Linked DNA regions of Homo sapiens: all the other regions are linked to region 3. The links are contacts of gene promoters, found by promoter capture Hi-C in blood cells and fetal thymus (Javierre and others, 2016). All regions are on one chromosome and are shown on one strand. Each heading gives the region's core, a stretch centred on a gene start or on the middle of the fragment in contact. The rest is flanking DNA. Distances are from core to core; before and after follow the strand shown.

What was found. Contacts are between HindIII fragments. The CHiCAGO score rates a contact against its expected background, and 5 or more counts as called.
Region 1: a contact is called between a fragment that was not itself captured here and the fragment with the promoter of KRT71 in region 3, in 9 of 17 cell types (endothelial precursors, naive CD4 T cells, total CD8 T cells and 6 more). The highest score is 9.4, in endothelial precursors.
Region 2: a contact is called between a fragment that was not itself captured here and the fragment with the promoter of KRT71 in region 3, in 8 of 17 cell types (endothelial precursors, naive CD4 T cells, total CD8 T cells and 5 more). The highest score is 8.0, in endothelial precursors.

Annotation. Positions count from the first base shown.
Region 1 is chr12:52,863,308-52,866,896 of GRCh38, forward strand. No RefSeq gene overlaps it. Among named protein-coding and RNA genes, the nearest start is that of KRT78, 16 kb to the left of the region's middle. The HindIII fragment of the contact is 5,339 bases long and covers 1-3,589 here.
Region 2 is chr12:52,817,330-52,821,077 of GRCh38, forward strand. No RefSeq gene overlaps it. Among named protein-coding and RNA genes, the nearest start is that of KRT4, 5.1 kb to the left of the region's middle. RefSeq lists an enhancer at 890-1,391. The HindIII fragment of the contact is 1,770 bases long and covers 1,165-2,934 here.
Region 3 is chr12:52,550,690-52,554,729 of GRCh38, forward strand. It overlaps KRT71 (keratin 71), which reads right to left and starts at 2,456. Exons shown (of 9, transcript NM_033448.3): 1 at 1,948-2,456. The coding sequence starts at 2,388. The HindIII fragment of the contact is 3,012 bases long and covers 1-2,641 here.

The DNA.
Region 1 (3,589 bases), core at 438-2,937, 310 kb after region 3:
TTAACCTTCCAGGTGTTTCTATATACAAATATCTTTCAATTTATTCAGTCAGCGCATATTTATTGGACACTTACTATGTGCCAGGCACTATTCTAACAACGGAGATATAGCAGTAAACAAAACAGATCATTGCTGAGTGCAGTGGCTCATGCCTGTAATCCCAGCACTTTGGGAGGGCAAGGCAGGAGGATGGCTTGAGTCCAAGAGTTTGAGGCCAGCCTAAGCAACATAGTGAGACTCTGTCTCTACAAAAAATCAAAAATTAGCTGGGCATGGTGGCACACACCTATAGTCCCAGTTACTTGGAAGACTGAGGTGGGAGGATCACTTGAGCCCGGGAGGTTAAGGCTGCATTGAGCTATGATTGCACCAATGCACTCCAGCCTGGACAGCAGAGTGAGACCCTGCCTCTAAAAAAAACATAAATAAGTAGAAGGGCCGGGCGCAGTGGCTCACGCCTGTAATCCCAGCACTTTGGGAGGCCGAGGTGGGCGGATCACGAGGTCAGGAGTCGAGACCATCCTGGCTAGCACAGTGAAACCCCGTCTCTACTAAAAATGCAGAAAATTAGCCAGATATGGTGGCACATGCCTGTAGTCCCAGCTACTCAGGAGGCTGAGGCAAGAGAATCGCTTGAACCCAGGAGGCAGAAGTTGCAGTGAGCCGAGATCACGCCATTGCACTCCGGCCTGGGCAACAGAGCGAGACTCCATCTCAAAAAAAAAAAAAAAAGTAGAAGGAATACATTCTAAGATAATGATAAAAAGTAGAGTAAATATACAAGCCAGTAACATAGTCCTTTACTACCATGATCAAGTAATAATATGTACTGTATGTAATTTCATGTGCTATATATTGATACAATTGGCAGCACAGTAGGTTTTTTACACCAGCATCTTCACAAACACGTGAGTAATGCCTTTTGATACATTATGATGGCTACGATGTCAATAGGCAAGAGGAATTTTTCAGTTCCATTATAATGTATGGAACCATTGTCATATATGCACCATACATACAACAGAGACCTTGTTATGCAATGTGTGACCATACTCATGTGTCTCATATAGCAGTATATTCTACTGCAATAGATGCATCATCTATTCATATTAATACGTATTTCCAGGCCCAGTGTGGTGGCTCACTCCTGTAATCCCAGCACTTTGGGAGGCCGAGGCAGGTGGATCACTTGAGGTCAGGAGTTCGAGGCCAGCCTGGCCAACATGGTGAAACCCTGTCTCTACTAAAAATACAAAAATTAGCCAGACATGGTGACGGGTGCCTATAATCTCAGCTACTGGGGAAGCTGAAGCAGGAGAATCATTTGAACCAGGGAGGCAGAGGTTGCAGTGAGCTGAGATCATGCCATTGCACTCCAGCCTGGGTGACAGAGTGAGTCTCCATCTCAAAAAAAAAAAAAAAAAAAGCCAGGCACAGTGGCTCACACCTGTAATCCCAACACTTTAGGAGGCTGGGATAGGTGGATCACAATACGAGGTCAGGAGTTCGAGACCAGCCTGACCAACATGGTGAAACCCTACTAAAATATAAAAATATAGTTTTTATATCTACTAAAAATATAAAATTAGCCAGTCATGGTGGCGCACGCCTGTAATCCCAGCTACTCAGGAGGCTGAGGCAGGAGAATTGCTTGAATCCAGGAGGCAGAGGTTGCGGTAAGCCAAGATTGTGCCACTGCATTCCAGCCTGGGCAACAGAGTGAGACTCTGTCTCAAAAAAAAAAAAAAAAAAAAAAAAAAAAAAAAAAAAAATATATATATATATATATATATATATATATTTCCCATAAGTGGGATCATATTACACATATGAATTTAAGCAGGCTTTCCCCCCATATCTGTCAATAAACACATCCTTAGATTACTGTGAAAGGCTCAGAATATTCTCTTGCAAGATTCTCAGGGGTTTTCACAAGTCCACTGCCTGATATCTTCCCCAGAGGAGATCTGAGCCTTGGTCTAGAAACCTCATCTGATCACAGACACACACACGCACAGGCACACGATCACGCATACACACACTGGAGTCCATAGGAGCCAGAGATGGTGGTTCACCAGGCAGCCCAGTTTAATCCAGTCCTGCTCTCAGACACCTGTCCAGGATTTTCCAGGGCCCAGACCCATTCCCGGTATTTCCTTGCAAGCAGGAGCAGGAGCAGGAGCCAGTTTCTCCCACTCTTGACTCCCCCTGCAGGTGGCCAGGATTCTTGCAACCCAGATGCCTGGGAGCTGGGCTGGACGCCTGGAATGGAAGCAAGGGGCAGTTCATGATCTTCCTGGAAGCCTCTTCTGTGCCACCACCTCCCTGGTGCCTGATGTGGGGATAAGGCCAGAGGCCCCCAAATGGGGACTCAGAGCGCTGGTGATTCCCAGGCCTTTTTCTAGACCTTGAGAAGTCCAAGTAGGCCCTGGGCCAACCTGGGAAAATTCACAGTGCATAGACTCTCTCGGAAGCTCTCTTGGGATCCTGGAGACGCCTTGGGCAGAACACAAAATGAGGCTGAGGATCAGGGAGAGAGGGGCCCTAGGGGCTGATGGTCAAGATCAGATCAGGGGTCTGACACTATGGGTTCAGACACTGTCTTCACTACGGCCTAGCCATGCGGCCTCAAGCTAGCGACTTAACCTCTCTGTGCCTTCCTCCATTTTCCAGCTATCATAAGGGGATAATCGGCCAGGCATGGTGGCTCATGCCTGTAATCCCAGCACTTTGGGATGCTGAGGCGGGTGAATTACCTGAGGTCAGGAGTTCGAGACCAGCCTGGCCAACATGGCAAAACCCCATCTCTACTACAAATACAAAAATTAGCCAGGCGTGGTGGCAGGCACCTGTAACCCCAGCTATTCAGGAGACTGAGGCACAAGAATCACTTGAACCTGGGAGGCTCGGGTTGCAGTGAGCCAAGATCGCCCCACTGCACTCCAACCTGGGTGACAGAGCAAGACTCAGTCTAAAAGAAAAACAAAAAATCCGGGCGTGGTGGCTCATGCCTGTAATCCCAGCACTTTGGAAAGCTGAGGCGGGTGGATCACCTGAGGTCAGAAGTTCGAGACCAGCCTGACCAACATGGAGAAACCCCATCTCTACTAAAAATACAAAATTAGCCAGGCATGGTGGTACATGCCTGTAATCCCAGCTACTCCGGAGGCTGAGACAGGAGAATCACTTGAACCCGGGAAGCAGAGATTGCGGTGAGCTGAGATCACGCCATTGCACTCCAGCCTGGGCGACAAGAGCGAAACTCTGTCTCAAAAATAAATAAATAAATAAGGAGGGATAATCATTCCTATATCCTAGGGCTGTTGTGTGTGTTAACCAAGATGACACGTGCAGAGTGCTCAGAACAGTGCTTAGCACAGCAGTGCCCACCAACTATTCGATTTTTTTTTTTTTTTTTTTTTGAGACAGAGTCTCGCTCTGTCACCCAGGCTGGAGTGCAGTGGTGCTATCTCGGCTCACTGCAAGCTCCGCCTCCCAGGTTCATGCCATTCTCCTGCCTCAGCCTCCAGAGTAGCTGGGACTACGGGCGCCCGCCACCAGGCCCAGCTAATTTTTTGTATTTGTAGTA
Region 2 (3,748 bases), core at 800-3,299, 270 kb after region 3:
CACAGGCCGGGGTAGGCTTTGCCTGAGCACAAGTGAATCCCTGAGATGGCTCATAGTGTGCTTATTGGGTCTTTTACTCTATGGCTGTAACACTCCAACACTAGGAGAAAATGGCATGGGTTCACTGCCCCTAGAGTTGTGTCTACTGCTTAGAACAAAAAGCAAGCCAGGAGCCAAGGGGATTTTCAGGGAAACAATATAGAATATGTAATCAGTCTTATTTTGTGCCTGTGGGGCACCCAAACCATGGAGCTACGATTGAGGTACTTCTCATGAAGGTGACTTGAGGTGTGCCATCGCTGATACAAGAAGGAAGATGAAGGAAAGGCAGCGGTGCCTCTTGGGTAGAAGGGATTCTCTCTTGGAACTACTGTTATATGCTGAACACTAGGTGCTTCTTCCAACAACCCAGTCAAAGAGGTGCTTTGCTATGTCCAGTTTGGAGCTGCAGATATTGAGGCTCAGAGGGGTATGTAACTTGCCTGAGATCACACAGCCAGGAAGTGGTAGAGATAGGAAGTCAGTACTATCTGTCTGACTTCAAAGCTTGTGACCTTACAATGTATAAAACGGTAGGTATAATGTTTTATATGAGTGACTGGCCCACACAGAATATGCAGGGAAAAAAATACACAGCAACTTATACAGCCCTGTACCTCATGGTCCACCAAGACAGCCATGGGGTCTGGCCAGCAGGCTGCAAGCTCTGCAGATGCAGCTCCGCTCCTTTTTGTCCTTACCCTCAGCACATGGTCAGTTGCTTGGTTGATGTGGCCCTGTCCTTACAAGTACCCAATAAGGTATGACACTGTCCTGAGGGGCCAGTTTTGTATCCTCCAATTAACTAAATCCAAATTAATTTCATGACAAACCCTACCATAAACCCAATCCAAACAAGAAGAAAGTTCTAGTCTAGAGCCACATTCTGTGTCCTTATTATTAAATCAGAATTGCAAGAAGCTCACAAAATCTTCAAACTGAGCCTGAGAAACCGAAGGTAGACCTAAGGAAGAACTTCCTATGCAAGAGCGCCTTTACACCCTAGAGTGAGAGAGAAAGAGAGATGAGTTTCTTTCCCTGAAAACGGGGAAAGACATTGCCTTCATATGTGGGCCAGAGGCAGGTGGCTGAACAAGGCGCCACTACCCAGCAGCCACAGCTGGAAGCTTGTCCCCTGCCCCTCCCCAGACCTCCACACGCAGATTCTGCTACTGCCCTCGGTGACCCTTCCTTGTTTGGCAGCTGTTCCCAATCTTTTCACAGAGGGATGAGCAGCCGACAGGGGTGTGGAGCCAGGCGGAGGGAGTGTTTGCTCAGGGCTTTCTGGGTAAGGGAGGCAAGCCCTTACATTCAGCCCTGGGATTAAGGGATCCTGAGGGCTTCTGTCACTCTCATCTCCAAACCCACTGTGTGGTGTGGGAAAGTGCTCCTGCCCTCCCTGGCCAGGCGGGCACCCTCACTCCATTCGGTCACCCAACCTCAACTGCCCCACCGGGCCTGAGTCATTCTTGGGGAACCAGAGACAACACGGGGATCAGAGATTCTGCAGAAAAGGGCCATCAGCGTTTTAGGGAGAGGCCAGTGAGGGCAATGAGAGGACGGGCACTCCTGAGAGCCAGGTATGGGGGTCTGTACCCAGGGGCTCCTCTTTCCCCGGGCCGGAGAGCTGCCCCTGCTGGCCTCCTACCCCAGGCATATACAGGCAGGGGCTTCCCAGCATGTTCTGGCAGCAAAAGCACCCTCATAAACAAAATCACGTGCACAGCCTCATGAGTAAAACAGATAAGGAGAGATGATCCAGTTGGTGCAGAGGAGGGACCATGATCCTTCTCACCTGCTGACCTCCCCCTGCACCCCTGAAAGCAGCCCTTAGGGTCCTCAGTTTGGAAACCCCTGGGTCTGGGCCATTCCCCTCCTTCGACAAGTATGTCTAAGCAGCGCATTATTGTTGGTGGGCCCCCCTGGGCTGCAGTATAATCTCTGAGGCTTTTTTCCATGACAATCAAAAGTTTCTATTGTTCAGTTTTTGAGCCCTAAATATAATTTTTTTGAGACAGGGTCTCCCTCTGTCACCCAGGCTGGAGTGCAATGGTGCAATCACAGCTCACCGCAGCCTCAACAGCCTCAAGTGATCCTCCCACCTCAGCCTCCCAAGTAGCTGGGACTACAGGTATGCATTATCAAACCCAGCTAATTTTTGTATTTTTTTGTAGAGGCAGAGTCTCACCATGTTGCCAGGCTTGTCTTGAACTCCTGGGCTCAAGTGATCCACCTGCCTCAGCCTCCCAAAGTGCTGGAATTACAGGCAGGAGCCACAACACCTGGCCTATGATCTCACTAAAACTGATTTTTTTTTTAACACTGCCACTAAGTTACCGTGGCTTTGGATACATTCTTCCCCTTCCTCAACCTGTTTTCTTATCTATGAAATAAAAAGTTTGGAGTCGATTACATCCAATGCCCCTTCTAGCTCCAGCATCCCCAGGTCTCCATTCCTTTTTCTATATAAGCAAAATAACCTGGTGCTTAAGAGCTTGGGCTATGGAACCAGATTGCTTGGATTCCACACCTAGCTCTGCTACTTCCTAGCTGTGTGACCTTAGGCAAGTTACTTAACCACTCTGTGCCTTATTTTCCTTATAGGCAAAATTAGAATGATAATAGTATTTATATTATAGGCTGTTGTGAAGAGAATCAGTTAAAGGCTTGACAGCAGTTCTGGCACACAGTTGGCACTCAGTGAGCATTAGCAAGTATTCCTCAAAGTGTTGTACATGGGGTGGACTATACTCCATCTGTCTGAGAAGGGAAGCTAGAGACCACCCAAGCTGGTGAGGCAGAGCTGACCCTAAACCGCTAGGCCTTTGTGTTCCTAAGCTGGAGGTTAGGGTTTGGCTGAAAATCCCTCTGCTGGCCTTCCACAGCCCTGGAGGAAGCTTTCTCAGGGCTCTTCGGGGCTCCTCTGAGGAGGACAGAGTGATCAGGCCGGAAGAGTGTGGGATGCATCCCAGCAACTGCCAGGAGCCCTAAGGTTGCCAAGGAAGGGAGCGGAGTGGTGACAGCCTCGGGTCGGGCCAACTGGTTTGGTAGCAGGGTGGGGAGGGCCTGAGAGGTGCAGGGTTGAGAGGCCAGCCAATTGGGGAATCACTTGGGTACAGCTTGAGGAGTGGGGTCCAGACTCAAAGTAGAGAACTGTGGAGATGAAGAGGAAAGAAGGTGATACCAAGAGACGCATGGAGGGAGGAGCAGTAAGATTTGGCGAGTGATGGAGGCAGGAGTAGGACGGAGGTAGCTTCTGGGGTGACAGGACAGAGGGCTTGAAATTGCAGCCCTGGACACTACTGACCCACCTCCAGCCAGCTGGATGACTACAGCATGAGAGGTCACTTCTGTGAGCGTGAATCGCCTCACCTGTAAACTGGAACACCACATGCCCACTACTGAACCTAGGGCTGTGGTGATGGTCACAGGCAAAGTAATGTATGTGTAAACCACAAAACCCAATTAAGTGTGGATTTTTCTTGCCGACTGGATGTGGGGGCTGAGAGAGACATCACTGAGGCCAAGAGGATAAGCTGGGAATCCAGAAGTCAGGGAGTGGGAAAGCAAAGAAACCTGATTCCTGAAAGGGCCTCTATAAGCCAGATGCTTTACACATGTTCTTATCACAACCCACTTTTACAAAGGAGGAAACTAAGGCTCAGAGAGGTTAGGTAACTTGACCGAGGTCATACAGCTAGTAAGTGGC
Region 3 (4,040 bases), core at 1,206-3,705:
GGAGCAGGCACCAGCTTCATCTTTGCTTATAGCCCCTCCTCTCCCTCCTTGGTCCTGCTCCCCAGAACCATCTTCTCTGCAACAAGCATGGCACATGGAACATGATGGACAGATGGAGCTCCTGATCCCATTGTAGCCCCTCACTGAGGCAGGAAACTGGCCAGAAGGAGATGTCCATACACACCTCTTGTTTGGTTTTTGGGGATGGGGAGCACAGTTTTTAAAATGTGACTTCCCTTAATCTACATGAGCACAGCTACTGCTTGAATAAGGTTGTCTTCCCCAACATCAGAAACACAAGACATGGGAAAACTATCTAAGATTCAGTGTCAAGATAGAATTATTCCCCGAAAATTTGTCTCTAGCCCGTCTTCCAGCATTTGGTCTGGTTTAACCAATCCTGAATTTTTCATGTGATCTACGAGGCTGAGCATTAACCACAGAGTAAATCCTGCATCTGAGACACCACAATACACACCTGCACTACTGAACACATCTGGATGCCGAAAGGATTTACCCGTCTTCTCTGGCTGCCTGAGGTTAAGGGACTGATCTCTGGAGACTGAAATTATTTGGGAACTGTCCAAGCCTTTCAGCCTCCTTCCCCTCCCTCTGGGCAGACCATCTTTATAAACAGGATGTGACCCTCCTCATGTTCATCTTTCTTCCCATGTCTCCAGACTTTATCCTTCTGTAGGTTTTGACCAGCCGAGCCAAGAATCAATCAGTCCACTCCCATCACCCAGACCCCATCTCAGAACACTTTGATCTTGCAGATATGAAAAGGCTTAGAAGAATAAGAAGCCGCAGAGCCAGTCCTAGCCCCTGAGGCTGAGCCGAGGGCAGCAGGGACTCCTCCAGGCAGGAAGTCTGAGCTGCAGGAGCTGGCTAAGCTCTGATGGCCACATGACCGTCTCACCCATAGACTTTGTCCTGGGTTGACCCGTCCTTGGTGCCTGACTGCCACAGAGCCAACAGAACCCTCCAGTCTCCTCCTCTGGGTCTGGAGGCAAAAGGCTGAGGGTCCAGCCTCACCCTTCCCTTTCCCCAAATGACCCTGGGAATGCCATTTACCTCCATGCCTTCAGTGACTCATACGATAGGGATAATCATTTCTTCTCTGCCAGAAGTCAGGGGCCTATCTGGACTGTGTCATCTCTTCAGGTCTCTAGACACCTTTGATTCCTCCCCTGAGCTTCCCTCCCCCACATTCCAGAGATAAGAAATGAGAGTCACAATCACAATCATTTTTGGAGTATTTAGTGTGCGTCAGGCTTGTGACAAGATCTTCACCTGCATTTTCTTTTATAAGCCTGACAACAACCCCAAGACAGAAGTTATTATCTCCATTTTAGAGATGAGGAGATGGCAACACAGACAGGCAGATCACCTTCCCAGAGCCACTCAGCTGTGGCCAGCAGTGAGCACAAGAGCACCGTGGAGTCCCCTTCCCCAGTGCCCTCTTCTGCCTCTCAAGAAAGTCTTCAACTGACTGGAGCAAATGCCCAATCAGAGGGCCTGAAGCGGCCCCTTCCTGCTGCTCCTGATCCGCTGGGCAAGTGACCAGTGGGCAGGGCAGCATGCCAGGGGAGGAGGACAGCTTCCCTGCTTACTCTGGGCGAGACTGGCTCTCACAGGCCTTTTCTGCACACGGCCTGCAGGCCTAGCAATGGCACCAAGCTAGCCCTCAAGAGGAAGGACCACATCTCTTGCTGGGAGCCCTGAGAAGCCTCTGCCAGTAGAAATTGACCTGCCTCTGTTTTCTCTCTGGAAAGACAACACAGAGAACCTTACACAGGTCACCCTGTTGATGGGATGTACCTACCTTGTCCACAGTAAAGTCTTCCTCACATCTAACCTCAATCTCTCCTGCTGTAACAAAATCGTATGTTCCAAGAAGAGAAGAGGAGGGCTGTTCACAAGTTCCCCAGGCCCTAGAAGACCCACCTTGTCGATGAAGGAGGCGAACTTGTTGTTCAGAGCCTTGATCTGCTCTCGCTCCTGGGCACGCACTTTCTGGATCTCGGGGTCCAGCTCCACGTTGAGGGGGGCCAGGAGGCTCTCATTGACGGTAACCTGGTGGATGCCTCCAGGTGGGCATACAGTTGGGCACACAGGCCCCAGGGCCACACTGCCAAACATGCTTCCAGCAAAGCCACTGGCCCGGCCCCGGCCAAATCCATAGCCTCCACTCTTCCCGCTGCCACTGGCCACATTGAGGCTCCGGACACCCCCCAGGCTGTAGAGGCTCCGGCTGCCAAAGCCCCCACTGAGCCCTTTGCTCCCTGCCCGGAAGGAGGATGAGCTGCCCCCTGAGAGCACAGCTGAGCAGCCACTGAAGCCCCCCTTGGCGGCAGCTCCCGACTTGCAGGTGAATTGGCGGCTCATGTTGCTGGTGGAGACAAAGCTCAGATGCAGGAGGGAGGAAGGCAAAATCCCAAAAGGTTCTGCTGGTTGTAGTGAGGACTGGCAGGTGCCTTTATATGTGCTTGGCACTGGGGCTTGTGGATGGGCAGTCAAGAGCTTAATTCGTGGGTTTGGCTTGCCTGGGAGCAAGAAGTCATTTTCTCTATGCTGAGCTAGAGATCAAGCCCTCTCCACCTCTGAAACAACATGAAACCTTCAAATTGCTGGGCTTGCAAGCTTTGCTCATGTAATTTGGGTCTTATCTAATTAACCTGCTGTTATAGGGTAATTTGCCCCAGGCCCTGGCCTCTCCAGGGGGATGTCACTGGCACTGCACCATCCCTATCCTGATTAATCTTCTCTGGGTTGTTGGCTTCCTCCTGGGGATGCAGCAGGTGAAGACAGGATGGACTTTCCTGGATAGTTCAGGACACTGGGTAGAGTACTGGGGCCTCCAACTTCTGTTCTCCTCCTTCCTGGAAAGGGACTGATCAGGCATTACCTCTCCCCAGGCCTCCTGGAAACATAACCCATAGAGGGCAGCTGCTCTCACTCATGGGGTATTAGGAGGTGGAGTGACCCTCTCGCTAGCATGGGACAGAAGCAGCCCAGGCCAGAGCCAACCACGGGCACTATCCTCACTTCTCCCCCCTCAAACACCCATAATAAAGCAGGCTGGAGGCTTCAAACACTGGAGAAAATGAGGACGAGAAAAGGAGGATGGAGTTGGGGCAGGTGGCTGAGAAATTCAGGGACTTGACTGGAAGGAGGTACAGAGAAGACAAAGACAGAGGCTGGCCCATGGCCTGGAGGGTTATGGAGATTCCTGGGTGGTCCACTTCCTCATTTCTGTCTCTCCTCCAATGTGTATCTGCTAATAAGACTAGGAACAACTTGAGGACAGTAATCATCTGTTTAGAGTTCAAATAAAGAAGCTGTTATCAACATGAAACTTAACTCCTATTGCCTCTGTCCAGGCCCAAGTGAGCCAAGAACAAGGCTGGCTGAGCCCTCCCCAGGAGTGCAAGCCTCCAGGCAGGCTCAGACCAGAAAGACCCAATGGGGGCGACCCAGTAAGCACGATGTCATTCTACTCCAAACAGTCCTTTGATGCCAGCCCCAGAGACTCTGGCTGCAGCCCCTGCTTCCTAGCCACTGGCTCCTGTGTTGGGCCCCAGCTACTCCCATGATCGCCATTGCCACTGTGGCCCTATTCAACCCAAGGCAGCTCTGTCCCTGAAGATCACCCTTGCCCAGAGATCCCTGCTGGAGCCCCATGGGTGAACAGCAGCTCTTTGCTGGGTGGGGCACAGGAGGGAAGAAAATCTGGAGACAGGCTGGTTTGGGGCTCTCTCTCATATTGTTTAGGGGAAGAGCCTGGACTCCAGTCCCTCCCAATCCTCTGCATTCCTTCCTCTACTCTTGCCCCTGCCATTTTGTCTTCTTTGCTCTTACTGAAACTACCCGAATTTTCCTATCCCTGCCTTCTCTCTTTCTCACCTTCTCTCTCCATCCCTCCTCATCCCTCCCATCCATCTTCCCTCCATCCTTCCCTCTCAGCCTTTCGCCATCTCTTGTTCTGTCACTTCCCCATCCTGCTCTCCTCCAGGAGGTCTTCCTGCACCCACACAGGC